Regions from separate parts of the Homo sapiens genome. Here all the other regions are linked to region 3. Evidence: promoter capture Hi-C in 16 types of primary human blood cells and fetal thymus (Javierre and others, 2016). All regions are on one chromosome and are shown on one strand. Each heading gives the region's core, a stretch centred on a gene start or on the middle of the fragment in contact. The rest is flanking DNA. Distances are from core to core; before and after follow the strand shown.

What was found. Contacts are between HindIII fragments. The CHiCAGO score rates a contact against its expected background, and 5 or more counts as called.
Region 1: a fragment that was not itself captured here is called in contact with the fragment with the promoter of TMEM179 in region 3 in 1 of 17 cell types (endothelial precursors); the score reaches 5.4 in endothelial precursors.
Region 2: a contact is called between a fragment that was not itself captured here and the fragment with the promoter of TMEM179 in region 3, in 1 of 17 cell types (endothelial precursors). The highest score is 5.2, in endothelial precursors.
Region 4: a fragment that was not itself captured here is called in contact with the fragment with the promoter of TMEM179 in region 3 in 3 of 17 cell types (M0 macrophages, total CD8 T cells and megakaryocytes); the score reaches 6.8 in M0 macrophages.
Region 5: a contact is called between a fragment that was not itself captured here and the fragment with the promoter of TMEM179 in region 3, in 2 of 17 cell types (naive CD4 T cells and M0 macrophages). The highest score is 6.0, in naive CD4 T cells.

What each region holds. Positions count from the first base shown.
Region 1 is chr14:104,339,498-104,343,316 of GRCh38, reverse strand. No RefSeq gene overlaps it. Among named protein-coding and RNA genes, the nearest start is that of LINC02691, 120 kb to the right of the region's middle. RefSeq lists an enhancer at 518-1,131. The HindIII fragment of the contact is 750 bases long and covers 2,121-2,870 here.
Region 2 is chr14:104,230,264-104,234,000 of GRCh38, reverse strand. All of the region lies in intron 1 of LINC02691 (long intergenic non-protein coding RNA 2691), which reads right to left. Among named protein-coding and RNA genes, the nearest start is that of LINC02691, 8.5 kb to the right of the region's middle. The HindIII fragment of the contact is 1,332 bases long and covers 1,070-2,401 here.
Region 3 is chr14:104,602,837-104,606,609 of GRCh38, reverse strand. TMEM179 (transmembrane protein 179) reads left to right here and starts at 1,838. Exons shown (of 4, transcript NM_001286389.2): 1 at 1,838-2,173. The coding sequence starts at 1,869. The HindIII fragment of the contact is 15,381 bases long and covers 1-3,773 here.
Region 4 is chr14:104,159,480-104,163,267 of GRCh38, reverse strand. All of the region lies in intron 4 of KIF26A (kinesin family member 26A), which reads right to left. Among named protein-coding and RNA genes, the nearest start is that of KIF26A-DT, 23 kb to the right of the region's middle. The HindIII fragment of the contact is 3,634 bases long and covers 680-3,788 here.
Region 5 is chr14:104,191,515-104,195,233 of GRCh38, reverse strand. No RefSeq gene overlaps it. Among named protein-coding and RNA genes, the nearest start is that of LINC02691, 30 kb to the left of the region's middle. The HindIII fragment of the contact is 5,448 bases long and covers 1-3,719 here.

The sequences.
Region 1 (3,819 bases), core at 1,246-3,745, 260 kb after region 3:
GGGCCCTGCAGACAGGAGCAGGAGGGGCAGCCGCAGCCCATTGGTGAGTCAATGGGCCTTGCCTGGGCCACTCACCCCAACTCCCCACCTCGTTAGGCAGCCAGTGAGCAGCCAGCCTGTCGGCCCAGCAAATTGGCACAAACAGCCTTATTACCTGACTAATTAGAGCCCAGAGGCCCGGCCAGCGCCCCCTGCCCACCTCCTCTGCAATCAGTCCCAGTGAGTAACTGCTTGAACAAGTGCTTTGAAGGCAAATCTGTGGTGTCCCCCGGAGCCATTTCCCAGGTGTATTTCAAACCGGCCGCCATCCTTCCTCTAGGAGGCCTCACGCCTGCCCTGCCCCTCCTCCCTGGGCCAAGCAAAAGGTCCAAGCCCAGGACCCCATGGGTTTCTTCAAATAGATTCAGCACAGACTGGGTGGACAGCGCCAGGCCCGGTGATCAACTCAGCCAGGGCTCAGATCTGTGACATGGGGGTCACCATGCAGGGCTTCCTTACAGGGCTGGGCAGGTAGGAGCACGCATTTCAGGCACCTGGCACCCAGCACATCGTCAAAGGGGCAGGTGAGGGGACAGCCTACTTAGTGGTCTGAGGAGTTAGAGGGTCAGAGCGTGGAGCTCGGGGAGGCAGGATTGCACGCACCCACACGGAGCTCGGCTTTCTCATCAAGGATGTGAACACAGTGCCTGCTCCCCTCAGCCTCTGCAGCAGCAAGACACAGGAACATTGCCCTGAGCCATCTGGGCCCCTAGGGACCCGGACGGGCCTTTGTAAACTTGACTTTCCCTGACCTGAATTTCAGATCCCCTCGGCTCTGACAGTGTCCAATAAATAACTCCACCCTGCATGAGCGATAGCAAACCCCAGAATGGCTTTAATTTTGCAGGGTGATAAATTAAATGCAATGTCTGCCTCGTGTGCGCGATTAAACTCTTTTTACAGCGTTTTCATGTTGCTTTATGACTGGACCACTGCACCTCTTGAAATTCTTGGCAGAGTCCGCTGCAGTCAGGCAGCTCCTCCAGGCCAGTGCAGGTCACATGGGTGGTGAGTCCCGCCCCTCCCCGCCCCGCCCCGCCCCGCCCCTTACTGGATGCGTCCTTGGGAACCGCAGGTGGTGCCAGCTGGGTCCAGGGCGGTGAACTGGGGCCCGGAGTGCTCCTCCAGCCTGCAGGTGGCGCTGCAGGCGATCTCCATAAGCGCGGAGGGCAATTCACCGGCTCCGGACCTGAGTTCTCCATTTCGGCATTCCACGTTTGGAATTCCATACTTTGCCTCTGACCTTTATTTTCCTCTTCCTTTCTGACCTTCATGTGAATTAGACATTTTTTATTCCTGATTTTTCCTTCTGTACCGGGTTGGAGGTTGTGTGTACTATTCACATTGTCTCAGTAGTTGCTGTGGTCTGAATCCTTGCATCCCCCCAATATTCATATGTTGAAGCCTAACCCCCATGCAATAGTATCAAGAGGTGATGAGGCCTTTGGGAGGTGATTAGTGCCCTTGCAGAAGGGGCTGGAGGGAGCTTGTTTCCGGCTTCTGCGTTATGAGAACACAGGGAGAAGTCATCATCTGTGAGAAACCGGCGCACCAGTCACTGAATTTGCTGACACCTCCATCTTGGACTTCCCAGGCCCTAGAACTGTAAGCAATAAATATCTGCTGTTTATAAATTGCCTGGTCTGAGGTATTTTGATATAGTAGCCTGCATGCACTAAGGCAGTTGTTACTCATAATTTTAATAGGCTTTTTTACAAAGTCAAAAGTTAACCAAAGGGCCAGTCCAGTTTCAGTAAAGCAAAGAAATAAATGCATGAGGAAAGAAAAGAGAAAATGTGATCATGGTCTGCAGATAATATGATTGTTTAAGTAGAAGGGAAAAAAACTAATACTAATTAGAATGAAGATAGTTAGCAAGTTTGCTGGGCACAAAATCAATACCCCAATCCAACTGCATTTCAATACAATCACAATCTATACAAACCGATTTCTATACCAACCATGGTCTTAAAATATAAATTTTAAAATGTCATTTACCCTAGCAATTAAAAATATTGAATACCTAAGAATAAAACCAACAACAGATGTGCAAACACGTTATGGGAAAAATAATGAAAGCTTTATTCAAAGACATTAAAGAAGGTGTAAGTAAAAGGAGAGATGTATCATATATTTTATAAAGAAACATACTATGTACTTCATCACCATGTCAGTTTTCCCCAAATTGACCTAAAGATTTAACACACTTAAACAAAAATCACAAGAGGTTTTTTCATGTAAGAGCAAAGGACTAAGATTAGCCAAGATGCTCTTGAAGAAGAAAGCAAGCTGGGACCTATGCAACACAGCAGGACTTAGCACAGAGCTGAAGTCATTAAACTGTATGGTATGGGTGCAGATATGGACAAAAAGACCAACAGAAGATTACTGAGAACACAGAAAAATATATACTAATGGAAACTTGAAGTATAACTGACAGAATAAACAGTGCAGATCAGTGTAGAAAGGATGTTTTTTGATAAGATGCTGGGAAACTTGCTCTCCATACATTTTTTAAGTAGAGAAAATGAATCCCTACCTCACATCATACTCAGAAATAAATCCCAAATGATCAAAGATTTAAACATGAAAGGCATAACTAAAAAGACTGTTGAAGAGGGAAGGGCTTCTCAAGACACAAAAAGAGCAAAGCGTGAAGGGAAAGCTGTAACAAAAGGCAATTTTATTAAAATTAAGAAATTCAATTCAGCAAAAGAAACCATTTAAAAAGTGAAAACGAAGGCTGAGGACAGTGACTCACACCTATAATCCCAACACTTTGGGAGCCTGAGGTGGGAGGACTGCTTGAACCTGGGGATTCAAGACAAGCTTGGGCAACATAGCAAGACCCCTTCTCTACAAAAAGCAATAACAACAACAAAAAGTGAAAAGACAAGTCACAGGCTACGAGAAAGTATCTGCAACACATCTAACTGACCAACAGAATACAAAAAATATGAAGAGCTTTTACAAATCGATAAGAGAAGGCAAAAATCCCCGTGGGAAGAAATGGACAAAAAATTTGAACTAGCATTTCACAGAAGAGGAAATACACAGATTCATAAACATTTGGAAGTAAGTTCAACCTCTTCAGTAATCAAAGAAATGCCTTTGTTTGTTTGTTTGTTTTTGTTTTGGTTGAGATGGGGTCTATCTGTCATCCAGGCTGGAGTGCAGGGGCACAATCATAGCTCACCACAGCCTCAATCCCCCAGGCTCAAGCAATTGTCCTGCCCCAGCCTCCCAAGAAGCTGGGATTACAGACATGCACTGCCACTCACTGCTAATTTTCAAAAAGTTTTGTAGAGACAGGGTCTCACTATGCTGCCCAGGCTGGTCTTGAACTCTTGAGCTCAAGTGATCCTCCTGCCTTGGCCTCCCAAAGTGCTGGGATTACAAGCTTGAGCCACTGTGCCTACTCAGAAATGCCTTTTGAAAATCCTCTAGGGAATTCTGATTGTGATCATAGACTGAACATATGCATCTCACTTTCTCTCCACACTCCTACTAAAACTATAATGAGAGGTTTTTTAATGACATAAACTCTTAGGGATGAGAAGAACACAACAGGAAGAGGGGAAGTGTACTTTATGACAGACTAAATCATAAACAACTAACAGTAAACAGTAAAACACAACAAAATTTTGGAAGCTGGAAAGCAGATAGACAAGTGCTAACTGCCTTAGCAGACTTGAGAAAGACAACTCCTGAGCCAGCAAGGGAAAAACTGTGAATAAGTCTGATTTGCTCCCAAGAATATTTAAAATCTCAGGAACTGGC
Region 2 (3,737 bases), core at 486-2,985, 370 kb after region 3:
TGGGTTTTTCTTTTCTGCTGCATCATCAGGCTGCAAATTTTCCAAACTTTTATGCTCTGTCACCTCTCGAATGCTTTGTTGCTTAGAAATTTCTTCTGTCAGATACCCTAAATCATCTCTCTCAAGTTCAAAGTTCCACAGATCTCTAGGGCAGGAGCAAAAAGCTTCCAGTTTCTTTGCTAAAACATAGCAAGAGTGACTTTTACTCCAGTTACCAACAAGTTTCTCGTCTCCATCTGAGACCATCATCTGGACTTTATTGTCCATATCACTATTAGCAACTTGGTCAAAGCCATTCAACAAGTCTCTAGGAAGTTCTAAACTTTCCCACATCTTCCTGTCTTCTTCTGAGACCTCCAAACTGTTCCAACCTCTGCCTGTTACCCAGTTCTGCCTGTTACCACATTTTTGGATATCTTTATAGCAGCACCCCACTCTTGCTACAAATTTATTGTATTAGTCCATTCTCATACTGCTATAAAGAACTGCCCAAGACTGGGTAACTTATAAAAGAAAGAGGTTTAATGGACTCACAGTTCTGCAGGGCTGGGGAGCCCTCAGGAAACTTATAATTATGGCAAAAGGCACCTCTTCATAGGGCAGCAGGAGAGATAATGAGAGCCAAGAAAAGGGGGGAAGACCCTTATAAAATCATCACCCCTATGATTCAATTACCTCCCGTGTGGGGATTATGGGAACTACAATTCAAGATGAGACTTGGGTGGGGACACAGCCAAACCATATCAGCAAGTCAGGGTCAGGATGGAACTAAAACCCAGTTCTGCCCAAGCCAAAGCCTCTAATGGTTCATAAGATGATACCCCAGAAGAGATGTTCCCTAGCTGTGCCCAGGTCAGGATGATGCTCTCTCCAGCACCAGCCTGAGCTTGAACAAAGGCATCTTCTTTGTGTAGAAAGCAGCCAAATATGTCATCCTAAGCTGGAGCCCCTCCTCCTACTCCTGGGGAGCAGCAGTAGAGTAAGCCCCATACCACCTGCACAAGCACCCCCTCCCCATCAGCAGACCCCACATCAGTCACCACAGCTTCACAGCCTTGACCCTCAAGCTTTCCCCATGCTGCCTGCCTACCCAGCCTGGTGTCCTGGTAGTGGGAAGACCTACCACTGGACTCCACAGACAAATGCCAGTGCATGGATCCCAGGGGGTTGAGCCACTTGATCCCTGGATCCCATGGATCTGGCATACTCAGCAGCCAGATTAGCAGCCTCCCTTGCAGGCCGGACTTGGGGGATAAATAGAGGCAAGGATGGAATTAGCATCTTCAGATCTCTCTGGGATGGGAACAAAACCACAATCTCTGCCAAGTTGATGATAATGAAGAGATGATGACAATGACAGGGATGATAATAATGATGACAATGACCATGATGATGATGGTGATGATGGTGATGTGATGGTAATGATGTGATGGTGATAACGATGATGATGACAGTGATAGTGATTATAATGATGGTGATATGATAGTGATGGTGATGATGGTGATGATAATGATGGCAATGATGATGGTGATGATGATGGCAATGATGGTGATGATGATGTGATAGTAATGCTGATGACAGTGATGGTATAGCTATAATGATGATGATGTGATGGTGATGATAATGGTGATGAAGATGATGGTAATGATGGTGGTGATATGCTCATGGTGGTGTGTAATGGTAAGGATGGTGGTGGTGACGATGATGCAATAGTGATGATGATGGTGATGGTGGTGATGATGGTAATGGTGATGATGGTGGTGAGAGTGATGTGATGGTGATAATATTGATTATGATGATGATGGTGATGATGGTGATGGTAATGATGGTGGTGATGATGGAGTGTAATGGTGATGGTGATGATGATGGTGGTGGTGATGACGGAGTGTAATGGTGATGGTGATGATGACGGTGACGGTGATGATGGTGATGATGATGATGGGGTGATGGTCATGGTGATGATGATGGTGTTGATGATGTTGATGGAGTGTAATGGTGATGGTGATGATGGTGGTGGTGATGGTGATGGTGGTGATGTTGATGATGGAGTGTAATGGCGATGGTGATGATGGTGGTGATGTTGATGGAGTGTTATGGTGATGGTAATGATGATGGTAATGATGGTGATGATGTGACAGTGATGATCATGATGGTAATGATGATGGTGGTGAGGGTGTTGTGATGGTGATATGATGATTATGGTGATGGTGACAATGACAATGATGACAGCCATCTTCTGTTAACCACCAACTACATGTTAGGTACTCCCCATGCATAGACTCATTTGATTCTCACAACCATTTAGAAAGATGAATGGCATGTCCTCCCTCCATGGAGGAGCAAACTCAGACTCCTCAACTTTAAATGTTCACTAAAGTGGACACAGAGCTAGAGTCAAGCTTTAGGCTCAGGCCAGGCCCCACCACCAAGTGCTGGTGCAGGGCTGGACTGTATGAGCCCTTGTCATTGTTCTCTGAATTATCTCAGCAAGCCTGCTGTGGTTGTCATTTTACAGATGAGGAAAGTGGGTCCCAGATGGGGTAAATGACTCAACAAAAGTCAAAGCTCCATCAGCAAGTGGCAGGTCTGAGGGGCAGCATCACGTCCCAGAGTGCTGGAGGGGCAGGCAGAGGCCTGGCCTCTTGGCAACTATGAGCCTCCATGCCTTCATCTCATCTGTCATTATAGCAGTAAGGGTCATCCTGACCACCTTAGAGGTGCCCGAGGAGATGCACAGAATGTCAGGCACCCACCAGGTGCTTGGCAAACCCCGCAGGGTCTAGCCAATCCCAGAACCAGGCTCCAGCTCCCAGTCCTGTGCTCCTCTCCTTTGCTGCCCTTGCCCCTCTGGCCAGACCTCCAGGACCATCAGTGGACTCAGGTCGTGGCCTGGGAAGCTGCAGACCTGAGCGAGGAGAAACATGGTGAGGAGCAGCTAGAGGCTGAGCCTCCTCCAACATCCCCACCAGGACAGCCTTGTAAGCAATGAAATGGTTAAGGCCTCCCAGCCCAGCAGAATTGGCTCATTATCATTTCTAATATGGATCAATACTCTTCAGGCATCTGACAAAGCCGGCAGCTCTCTGTTCCCTTCCTGCCCTCCAAACATAAAAGATCCCCTAAGCCACACTGGCCCGGGGCTCTGGCCCTAGCCCCCTCCTCAGGCCTCATCTCCATAGTGGTCTTAATCAAGTCGTGGGGAAAGATGCAAGTCAATAAGTCCTCATTGATCACCTCCTCTCCCCTCCACCCCACTGACATTCTGTCAGCCCCTCCCCCACAGCCAGCCGGGCTAATGGGGGTCCTTGCCTCCCACGTAGGTAGTGGGTGGGGGGTGCTCGTGAAAGCCCTGATTGCTCTGAGGCCCAGGGCCTCCGTCGCAGCGAGGGCTCCAACACAACATATGCCTCCTGCCCGACGGCTTTGTCTTCAACAATAAAACAGGGTTTCTCTCCCGCCTCAGCCCTGGGTCCAATTTATCAGGCCTGGCACTGATCATCTGCTTCCCTGTCACCAGCCGGACTTGGGGGATAAATATAGGCAAGCAGATACAGAATTACCGTGACCAGATCTCTCTGGGTCGGGAACAAAAACCACTTTACACTCCTTATGAAGCATTTCCACCATCACAGACATGAAGGCAAAGGGGCGGGACCCCAGCAACCAACGGGAGCTCATCCTTCCCCTTGTAAGAGCCAGAGGAAGCTGCCACATGGAGCTCCCAGGCTGTGTTCCTT
Region 3 (3,773 bases), core at 589-3,088:
CGCATTCTGTGGAAACTGGCAGGATTTGCCTACAACTGCTGTTTCTCAGCCAGCGAGGGGAGGGGTCTACAACCCAGATGTGAGGGTAAATTTGAACAACATTTTAATTTTTTTATTTTTATTTTTATTTTTTTTGAGACCAAGTCTCGCTCTGTCGCCCAAGCTGGAGTGTAGTGGCGTGATCTCGGCTCACTGCAACCTCTGCCTCCCAGGTTCAAGCGATTCTCATGTCTCGCCCTCCCGAGTAGCTGGGACTACAGGCACCCGCCACCACACCCGGCTGATTTTTTTGTATTTTTAGTAGAGACGGGGTTTCACCATGTTAGCCAGGATGGTCTCGATCTCCTGACCTCGTGATCCACCCGCCTCGCCCTCCCAAAGTGCTGAGATTACAGGCGTGAGCCACCGCGCCCGGCTGAACAACATTTTTAAAGCCGGTTTGGCAATTTCTGTCAACATTTTAAATGTGCATACCCCATGACCCAGCAATTCCTCTTCTAAGAATTTCTCTTATAAAAATGCCTGTGCAAGAACGCAAACATATGTGTACAAGAATGTTCACATGACAGCATTTGAGACAGCAAAAACTGGAGACACAAAACATCCACCTTAAGAGGAATAGTTATGCAGATTGTGGAATCATCATTATAATGGAGTCTTATGCAGTTATTAAAAAGAACAAAATAGGTGTATGTGTAGGCAGGGAATAATCTCCTTGACATTTTGTTGAATAAAAGAATCAGCCTTCAGAAAACTATGTATGGTATGAAGCATTTTTGTTAATTCTGTGTGTGTGCTTATGTGCTTAGCAAAATGTCTAGAAAAATAGATGCCAGGCTATTGAAGTGGTCACCCCTGGTAGTGTGATGGGGTAGGGGAGGGGGATGAGGAGAAGGCTTTCTATTTTATTGTATACATATCTCTATTACTTGACTTAAGAAATGAGCATATATTACTTAGTCAATAAAACAAAAATATTTTTTAATGCTTGCAACAAAAATGCTGATGGAATTTTAAACCAGGAGGAGCAATGTTAAGGCTTCCTCACTCTGGGAATTGGACTAAAGGTGACTTAGTCTTAAAGGCAACTAGAAAAGGCATTAATTCTATTAATTAATGCCTCAGCGATTTCCATCTCAGCAAAGATGTCTTAATGAGGCGCTCGGGACACCCATTATTTATCTTACAAATGCAGCTCCAGGGTCCTGCCCATGTCAGGCAGTGTAACACACGTCCCCGCGGAGGGCTGGCGCTGCAGAAGCTCCCGGTCCACCCCCTCCTGCCCACACCTGGCCTCACCCTCCCCATCTCTTCGAGGATGACCTCTGTCCCAGTCCCTTGGACCCCGACTCCTCCACGATCTGGCCCCTCCCCTCATACATTGCATTTCGGGACCCCCGCAAAGGAATCACTTCAGCCTGGACTGCAAACCGCACTCCTACACCTCACTATGAGCACCTTGGGGGTGTCCTCCAACACCCCCCGCCCCGCCCTCTCTCTCCTGGTCTCCTTTCGTTCGAGCTGATGAGGAACTGACGACCCAGAGTCGGCCTGTGTGAGGCCCGTACAGGTGGCTCCCGAAGTCTTTAGCGGCACAGGGTCGGTCCCTCCAGGCCGACCTGGTAAAATTCCCGCATCTCCCGCAGGCCGCCCTTCTCTGGCCCCTGGACCCCGGGCTCCTGGCCCGCGCGCACCAGGAGCTGTCCGCGGTGCTGACCGCAGGCGCTTCCCGCGCTCGGCCGATGCGCACGCGTCCCGGGAGGGGCGCGCGGGACCTGCCGGCGCCGCCACTGCGCAGCCTCCCGCGGCCTCCCCGCCCGGCGCAGCCTCCCGCGGCCTTCCCGCCGCCGCTCTCGCCCGGGCCGGCCATGGCGCTCAACAATTTCCTTTTCGCTCAGTGCGCCTGCTACTTCTTGGCCTTCCTGTTCAGCTTCGTGGTGGTGGTCCCGCTGTCCGAGAACGGCCACGACTTCCGCGGCCGCTGCCTGCTCTTCACCGAGGGCATGTGGCTGAGCGCCAACCTCACGGTGCAGGAGCGCGAGCGCTTCACGGTGCAGGAGTGGGGCCCGCCGGCCGCCTGCCGCTTCAGCCTGCTCGCCAGCCTCCTGTCTCTGCTGCTGGCCGCCGCGCACGCCTGGCGCACGCTCTTCTTCCTCTGCAAGGGACACGAGGGGTAAGTGGGGGCCGCTCCCGGCGCGGCGCCCCTTCCATGCCCCCAGCGCCCCCAGACCCACCTCCCCGGGGAGGCGCGCGAGTCCCTCCGTCTCTCAGGCAGCTCCGAGGCCCGCAAATGTCAACAATCCGCCCTCACCCCCTCCACTCAGACCGCCCTTTGTCTACACACACATCCAGGGACCATGACGACCACCGGTCCTGCGTACAAGGCCAGTGCCTCCCCTCCCCAGCTGCGCATCACCTCCCGCTTCCGGGCATCTGCTCCCTTGGGTTGCAGATGTTGCACTGTCATCACCCAGCAGGCCTGGACCTTCCTGGGCGGGCTCAGCCGGGCCACACTCGCCAGGACCGGCGACAACTCCCAGCCCGGTCTAGGGCTTGCACTGAGCTCTCCAGGTCCCAGTGACAAGGCGAACTGGGGAGCCCCACCCGGCACCATCGCCCCGGGAAAGGGACGGCAGATGGCTGTCTGGAGGGGAGCCACCCAGGCCCACCTCGAGCTCAGGCCTTGGATGGGGAGCTGGAGAGAGACTGCAGGGCGAGGGCTGTGCCTTGTGGGCTCAGCGCCTTCCTCCTCCTGGCCTGCATTTTCCTCTTTCTCTTTCCTGCTCCGGCTAGATACTGGAGCCCATACAACCTGGTTCACCTGGGGTGCGGTGACACCCTTAGCCAGTGGCACCCTGGGGGCCCTCTGGGGGCCCACCCACTCCCTCTGCAGGTGCTCTCTGTGAACCCTCCCACTCCCTCTGTGAGCCCACCCACTCCCTCTGTGAACCCACCCTCTCCCTCTGTGGGTGCCCTCTGTGAGCCCATCTACCACCTCTGTGAATCCACCCACCCCCTCTGTGAACCCACCCACCCCCTCTGTGAGCCCACCCACCCCCTCTGTGAGCCCACCCACTCCCTCTGTGAACCCACCCACTCCCTCTGTGGGTGCCCTCTGTGGGCCCTCCCACTCCCCTGGCTGAGGCCTGCTGTGCCCAGGAGCAGCCCGAGATCCTGTAGAGGTTCCGGGAGAGCACTCATGAAACCCAGGCTCCTCCCAAACTCTGCCCTCACCCCCATCCTTTGTTGTAGGTTTTCACTTCCTGCACGCAGGTGGGAGATGAGAAGGGCTCAGAGGGGTGTGGGCGGCAGGAGTGGGGAAGCCCTCCTGTTGCCCCCGCTGTGAGCCCACCGCTTGGTTTTGGCTGAGAGAGGGGCCAGAGAGGGGAAGAAGAGGGGCTTCAGGGAGAAGGGAGGGAGCCAGGGCTATGCTGAGTGGGGCTGCAAACTCTGGAGGAGGAATGAGAATCCCAGCGCCTGTGGGTAGGAGCGCCCTGGGGCTGCTGCAGCACAGTTGCACCAACTGGACTGAAACCCACTTGTCCCACCACCCTCTGCCGCTGTCCTCACAGGGCGCCTTTGCTCTGCTCTGTCCTCCCTCTTTTTACAGGGACACCAGTCACTGGATTCAGGGCCCACTCTAAACTCAGGGAGATATCCTGAGATCCAGAGCTTAATTACACCTGCAAAGATGCTATTTCCAAACAAAGTCACAGTCACGGGTACCAGGGGTGGGACTTGGGCATATCTTTCGGGGGACACCATTCAACCCA
Region 4 (3,788 bases), core at 1,247-3,746, 440 kb after region 3:
CAGGGAGACTGGGCAGGGGCCTGGGCGAGGCCAGAGGCAGGCAGGCAGGGCTGCATCTGCCCATTTGGGGGCACAGGTGGGAGGAGGCTTGGATTTCACCAGTGTCTGCTCTTGGGGTTCTTCCTGCCTGCCCACCACCCCAGCCTCAGCCTCCTGTTCCAGACCCCCCACCCCACGACCTTGGGTTACACCTCAGCTTCCCGCCAGCTGCCTGCAAGGGAAGAAGCTGCGGCCCCGCTTTGGAAAACATCCGCATCTAGCAGGCAGGACTGGGACAGGGCTACCCCACCCTGCTGCCTGGTGCTGCTCCAAGGCTGGGACCCCAGGTTTCTTGGGGCGGGGCGGGGGGAAGGGCAGGGCCCTGCAGGTGCAGGTGGGAAGCCCCCCACCCTACCTGGACAGGCAGGGCTGAGGACGGTCCCCACGGTGGCCCCTATAAGGGACAGGGAGCCTCCCTGGACCCCTTTCCTCCTCTGGAAATGGATGTGGGGGACGCCCAGCACCAGCCCTCACTGGAGGGTGTTGGCTCGGCCTCAAGTGGATGGGGAGAGGTCACGCCCACCCAGAGCCAGCTCCTCCACCCTCCCCTGCAGCCCCTCCCAAGGCTGGGCAGGGTCAAGGTACCAGCTGCAACCCAAGGCTGTGGGCAATAGGGCATCGGCACCCACACCCCCAAGCTTCCAGGGGACGCGGAGGCCGGGCAAGCACTGGAGACTGGAGCAGCACTTGGAGAGGCCAGAGGGAGATTGAGGCTGGAGCCTTAGGTCTGCAGAGGCCAAAACCAGGCTGGCCCTTTGCCCCGTCGGCCACACAAGGGCTCTGCCCCTCCAGTGACCCTCCCAGGAGCAGCGTCCGCAGCACAGATCTCAGGTATGCCTGGGCCACAGCGGGCACACCCAGGGCCCAGGCCGCCTAGACAGAGGCTGGGACCGGGCGTCCTCTGTGGTTCCATCAGCCCTGGAAGTCTGGAAGGTTGTTCGCCCCACATCTCCACCCCACAATCTGACCTAACTTGAGGCGCCTCCTCCTCCTGGGGCCCATCGCCAACAGGCTGCACCCCAGCCTGCTGGGCCCTCCCGGTGCCTGCTTTTACGGGCTTACCTCACTGGTATGACTCAAAGACCTGCCACTGCATTAACGAGGCCCCAGAACGAGCACTTTCTCCTTTGATGAAATTCAGGCCCCCATGGAAACGACCATCAGACACAGCAGCCCCCATCTGGCTACCACGCTTGGGTTCAACAGCCCTTGAGGGCCCACGGCCCTGTGGAGGCAGGAACTTACTTTCTGAGCAGTGGGGTTTGTCTCCCCCAGGCCACAGCAGACACTGCCCACACCCAACACTGCCAGGGAGCGGCGGCCCTCAGTGGGCAAGTCTGAGGGGTTTGACTCTGAAGGGAAGACTCAGAAAAGCAGGAACTTCACCTGCATAAACAGCCCCCATCCTCACAGGACACCTCCTCCAGGAAGCCTGCCCTGATGCCCTGAGATGGGTGTCCCCAGCCCCTGCGCCTCCTGCTTCTATAGCAACTACCCCCTGCCGTGAGACACCAGTTTACACAGCTATGTCCCTGCCAGCAGGGGGTCTGGGGGCAGATGCTCACAGAAGAAGCTCAGAACACGCGTGAGCGAGGATGAACGAGACAGCGGGCACCTGAACGGCCCCCAGAGCCACCAGGTGTCTTGCTGCAATCCCACAGCCTTGCCTGGGCTCATTGGCCCTGGCCATCGATTCATGTCAACAGAAAAGGAAATATTTTCCTTTTTACAGAGAAAAATCACCGCTTCCAAACAAGAGGGTAATTTCACAGGCAGTTGGCCTTGATGGTGAGGCCCTTAATTACCCCAAGGAGACACACGAGCCTGTTCTGTCGCGTGCAGGAATCACTTATGGCCAACCCAGAGCTTCCACACTGGGCCGTGCGAGGCTGGTGGACGGAGCCCCACCCTCCCTACCCCCACCTCACCCCAGGGGCACCTGCCACCTGCCGGACCTGCCCCACCAAGGAACCAGGGCAGGCATCGGGGGACCCCAGCTGGGTCCTGCAGACCTGCGAAGGGGACCCTGGACCCCAGCTGGAGGCAGCTGGAGACTGAGGCATCAGCCCCTCCAACTCCCAGCCCTGCTGTGGTCCACACTTCCTGTGTCCTGGATTTTCACCCACAGGCCAGAAGACAGGTGGGGACACCTCTCCAGACAGTGCCTTCCATGTGGGTCCCCAGCTAAGCCTCGGGCAGCGCACTCTCCCCGCAGGCGCTGCACTTCTGCTGGGTGCCAGCCTGACCGTCCATGGGCCTGGGCATCCAGGCTGACACGGGGGCTCTGCTGAGGCCACAGTGGGGTGGGGAGTGGGGGGCCTGGGTACCTGCAAGTGCCATGAGGTGCTCCCCACCCAATGGAAGCAACCTCCCTTAGCAGTTTTCTCAAAGACATTTGATTTGGGGTCTTGGAGGGGACCCCCATACCAGCATGGCAGCGAGCAGGTGAGAGTATGATGACGGAAGTACCTCAGAGGAGGCACTGCAGAGGCTCCCAGCGCCGGCACAAACCAGCGGGGCCTCAGACAGCGTCATCAGAGTTGCCAGAACCTTCAGGGAACTCCTAACCCTGGGGGTCACCAGAGCCTTCGGAGAACTCCTAACCCCGGGGCCACCCGGCCCACGCGCCCCACCCTCCCGAACACTTGCTGGGCCAGCATGCCAAGCTCTGTCACAGCTGCGCTGCCTCAATCCCTGCAGCTTCCCCAGGCCCCACCCAGGGGGTGAGGGCATGGGGCTCAGCCCCTGCTCTATCTATGCCCCTGTTAGCATTAACGAAACTCGGGTACCCGGGCACCCATGGGATCACTCCACATCCCAGCTTCCCTGTGTGGACATAAGGAGCCCAGAGGCCACTGAAAGGATCAGGGGGCAGCCTGAGGCTGGTGCCCTAATCCGGCTGGGGGGTGCTTGTGGGCAGCAGCAGAGCTGAGACTCCCCAGGCCCACGGGATTCAAAAACTCAAACTCCTGACCTCCACCCCATTCCGTCTCCACTTGGCAATGCTGCCTGCCAGACTCCTACTCAACCCTCAAAGCCCGCTCCCTGAGAGGCCACTCTGCCCTGACTGCTACACGGGTCCCGTGCTGCCATCTAAGGCTGCCTCCACAGAGGTGCCCCTCGGTCCCTCCAGACTGGAAACTTCCCAAGGGCAGAGCAGGGGCTGGGGTCAGTGCCACTCCCTCCCAGGTCCTCTTCGAGGGTGGAGGTGGGAGCACAGAAGGTACCCTCAGCACGTGCCCAAGACCCCTGGGGCGGGGGCTGAAGCTCCACTGTCTCCTGGTGGACTCGTCCCCACTCAGAGCCACAGCCCCACACCCACAAAACCCAGGAGTGGACACCCCCTCTGATCTCACCCCTGAGGGTTCAGGGTACTGCAGCCCCACAGAGGAGGTCACCCACCACCGACCCCAGCCCACGTCAGGCATCCACCGACAGGGCCCACCTGCCAGGATGTCCCCCGCCACAACCTGAACCACGACCTGCCACCTGCAGTGGCCTCGCAGAAGCCGCTGAGACCCAGGGTGCCTAACAGGCTGGAAGTAATGGCAGCCGGCAGCGCCCCCGCCTTGGGAGAACCGCCTCTGGGTCCCCAGCCCGATGCGCTGGTTTCTATGGTAACTTCCCAAGGTCAGCAGGCAGCGCGGCTGGCAAGCGGCACCGGCCTCGGCTCCCAAACAAAAGGCAGCCAGGGCCGCTCTGCTGGGCTCCAGGTCACCAACGCACCGGCCTGGGGGCCGACACCCTAC
Region 5 (3,719 bases), core at 855-3,354, 410 kb after region 3:
GAATTGGAAAGGGGGTGGTTTGGGAAGGAGAGACCCTGCTGGTGGTCTGGGCACAGGTGGGACTTCCAAACCGCAAGCAGCCCCTGCTGCTGTCCCTGGGGTGTCTCTGACTCCCGCCACTACTACAGGGCACCTGTCTCAGGTGGGCTGCTGTCCTTGGCCGCACGAGAACTCTGCACAGGGTCTTCACTCCTCGCTGTGGCCCGGTCCGCTAGCAGGAGGGTCTGCGTGTGCAGAGTGGTCTATGGAGAGACCCCAGGGCAGGGACTGCGAGGGGGCTCGTTGAAAGGACCACTGTCCAGTCCCCAAGAGTGAACACCAAGCAGGGGGGCCAGCATGCCGTGCCCCCCTTGGCCCCATCCTCAGCCTGGCATGCTGGGCCCTGCCTGGCCGCCCCCACAGCTCAGCCAACAGTAGAGCTCAGCCCTGGCCTCACCGAACACAGACATCCCCTGAAACAGACACCTGCCAGAAGGACCCTCACCCCTGCATCTCTGGTTCTCTCTGCCCTTCCAGGTTCCCCTAAGCACCTCCTCTTCCGGGAAGTCTTCCCTAACCACCCCTGGCCCAGATGGAAGCACTTCCCTTCCTCTGAGTCCCCCGCACTTTCTCTGCCTCTCTACTGGCCTAATCGTCTGCTAGACCATCAGTCACCTGCTGGACCGTAGGTGACACCCTGGACCGTAGAAGCTCTTAAGAGTCTTAAGAGCTTCAGTCTACACCTGACTTCCCTCCCTCAACACAGCCCTGACACAGCACGAGCTGAGAGCTTAGGTCTAGGGAACTAAAGAAGAACTAGAAAAGTCTGGCTTCACTGAGCCCACCATGTGCTGGGCACCGGGGATCATCACGCACACCACCCACTTCACCCTCCAGGACGAGGGACAGCTCTCCCCATTGTCCAGAAGAGGAAATCGCTGCCCAGCAAGGACAGAGCTGAAGGCCCAGCCTAGCCTCGCTGCTCCGGAGCCCTGGATGGGCAGGTGCCCTGCCGTCCGGAACCCACGGCACCCAGCCAGGACCATGGAGAGACAGGCACCTGCTCCAGGATGGCACATCCACACTCCTGAGCTGAGGAGATTGTGGAGCCAAGACTGTCTCTGCAGAAGCCGTTCATCCACCCCCTCCCCTCTGCCCAGCCCTGACCCCTCATGGCTCAGGGTGCGCGGGCCACCTCGGCCAGAGGCCTTCCCAGCGCTGAACTGTGCAAATATTTGTTTCTTTAAGAGAAAAGAAGACCCTCTGGTACTTCCAAGGGAGCATAAATGGGGCCCCAGGAAACCCCACCAGGATATGGGGCTGGCTGATGCCTGGAAGCAGCTCAAAGCAAACCAGGTAATTACCAAAAAACCAGGTAAAAACCAAAAACAGACCAACCAGAGCAGGACCTGACTTCATGGTGAACAAATGTTCTTTGTGTTTTTAAGTGAATGCTGCATTTTAAGCCAATCCCTTCCCACCTGCCCCCGCCACTGCCATGCTCCCCCTGTGCCCAGGTCACCTGGACAGAGGCTCTTCCTGGACCAGCCCTGAGAGCTTGAGGGTCCCGACCCTGCCATGGCACTGGGGCTGGGTGGAGGCACTGAGGGTGAGGAGGGAACCCAAGTTGATGCCCCGGTTCCGGAAGAGGATGAAACAGGGCCCCCAGGAGGGGTGCACAGGGGAGAACAAGTCTGAGAGATCTGGGGGCCGGAGGGACATGGGGCAGATACCAGAGAAACGATGGAACTGCAGATGTGGGGCACAGGGATGGGGTCTGGGGGCCAAGGTGGCCCAGGGGGACGTGAAGCCCCAGGGCAGGGGCAGGTGGCCCAGGGAGAGTGCAGGGAGGAGGACAGGGCTGAGGGCCACAAAGGGACAGATGAAAGACACATCCACAGGGTGGGGGGGAGTGGCCGGGGTGGGGGCCGAGAAGTGGGCACAGATGCCAAGAGAAGGGCACCAGGGCTCTGCCTTTGAAGGCTGTGAGATCTCGCCCAGCAGAGGCCTCGGTGGTTGGGGAGGAGAGGGCTGAGCAGCCTTGCGAGAGGAGACCACCCCAGCCTTGATTTCCCCAGGGGTGCACTGGGGTAGGTCCCTGGGAGTGGGCTGGGGTCTCCCACAAGGCCTCCCTGGGGGCTGGGAGCTCATTTGCGAGTCTGCTCAACCTGCCCCGGCTCTATGTTCACACCCCATGTATTGCCACCCGACGCCACGATGCCTGTGCCTGGTGCGCTGCTGCTAGAAGCTCTCAAGTGCGGCGGAGCCCCCTCCTCACCCAACTCACAGCAAAGGGAGCAGGAGAGAGAGCAGGCCAACCAGCCACAGGCAGGGGGCATCCCCACCCCTGCCTCAGCTCTGGGTGAGGCCCTTGGGAGACAGAAGCAGGACAGCCCCCAAGAGCTGGGCAGAAAGACGAGGGCAGAGGGCCCCGGGTAGCTGAGCCTGAGATTGGGGAGCTGCCTGGAGCAGGGAGCCAGGTACACACAGGGGCAGGGCTGTCCCCAGACCAAGACCTGCCCACAGGCCTCAGCAGGCACATCCCATGTGCCAGCCCGCCCAACGCCCAGCCCCTTCCTTTTCCCCTGCCTCCAGCTCATTCCTTGCCCCCAGAAGCCAGAGCCTGTCCCACTGACCCCACCATCCCATCTGAACCACCACCCAGCTGCTCCAGCTGGCCAGGCTGTGGGTGCTGAGCTGTTCTGAAGAGTGAGGGCACCAGGCTCCCGGAGGAGCCCTCAAGGCCAACCAGTCTCAGGAGCAGGGGCAGAGTCCATGCCGAGTGCGAGGAGACCCCTCTGCCCCTCTGCAGTGCCCCTCCGGCTCCACCAGGCTCACCCCAGGGGCAGACGCAACCCAGTGTGGCCCCAGGGTGGGTCTGGCCCTCCTTGTGGCCGCCCGTCCTCCTGCCCAGACCCAGGGCTCTGCTGCGAGGCGAGGCAGGGAGAGGCCTGGCTCTCCTTCCTCCCGTCAGCCTTGCACAGGCCGGCCTGCCCTGGACCTGGCCTTCCTGGTCTGTAACACGGGGTGACACGGATACCTGCCCACGCCTGGACATGGAGGGGCCCCGATAAATCCCCGTGGCAATGGCAGCAAATAGTCACTGCCCTAGAGAGGACCAGGCAGCAGCTCCTGGTGCCCCCACCCTGTGCCGCTGGCTCCGGGCACTTCACAGGCCTTTTTCTATTTCCCAGGCTCCATGTTGAGTCCACACAGCTGGTGGGAGCAGAGCCTGGCCGTGGACCCGACGGGAGGCTGCACTGTGCACACATCATCCTACCCCTGTCCGTGCCATCCCCATTGGAGCCAAATCCATTGGCGTTCCTTATGTGCCAGGCACCACTAAGCTGCATACTCCGGGTCAAATCATCTAACTGAGCCCCAGTGAGGTAGGGGTGAATACGGATCTCCAGTTTCAGAGGAGCACAGAGAGGTTCAGTAGCACACCTGGGGTCACACAGCAGGCAGAATTTGCACTCAGATAGCCCAGCTGGTCTGGGCACTGAGGCCAGTCACTGCCCGACACTCCGTGTCTCTGTGACACTAGGTGAGCCCCACCCAGGAACGGGAGGCAGGAACTGGCAGGCCCTGGGCCGTGTGGTCCGTGCAGGTGGGTTCCCAGGCAGAGCCGCCTCTCCCTGCGGTGCTGCTCTGTGATGGACCCGTCAGACCCAGGAGGTCAGCCCCGATGGCCGCCTCAATCCGCAATTGCCGTTCAGCTGACAGCAGCGTGGATTTAC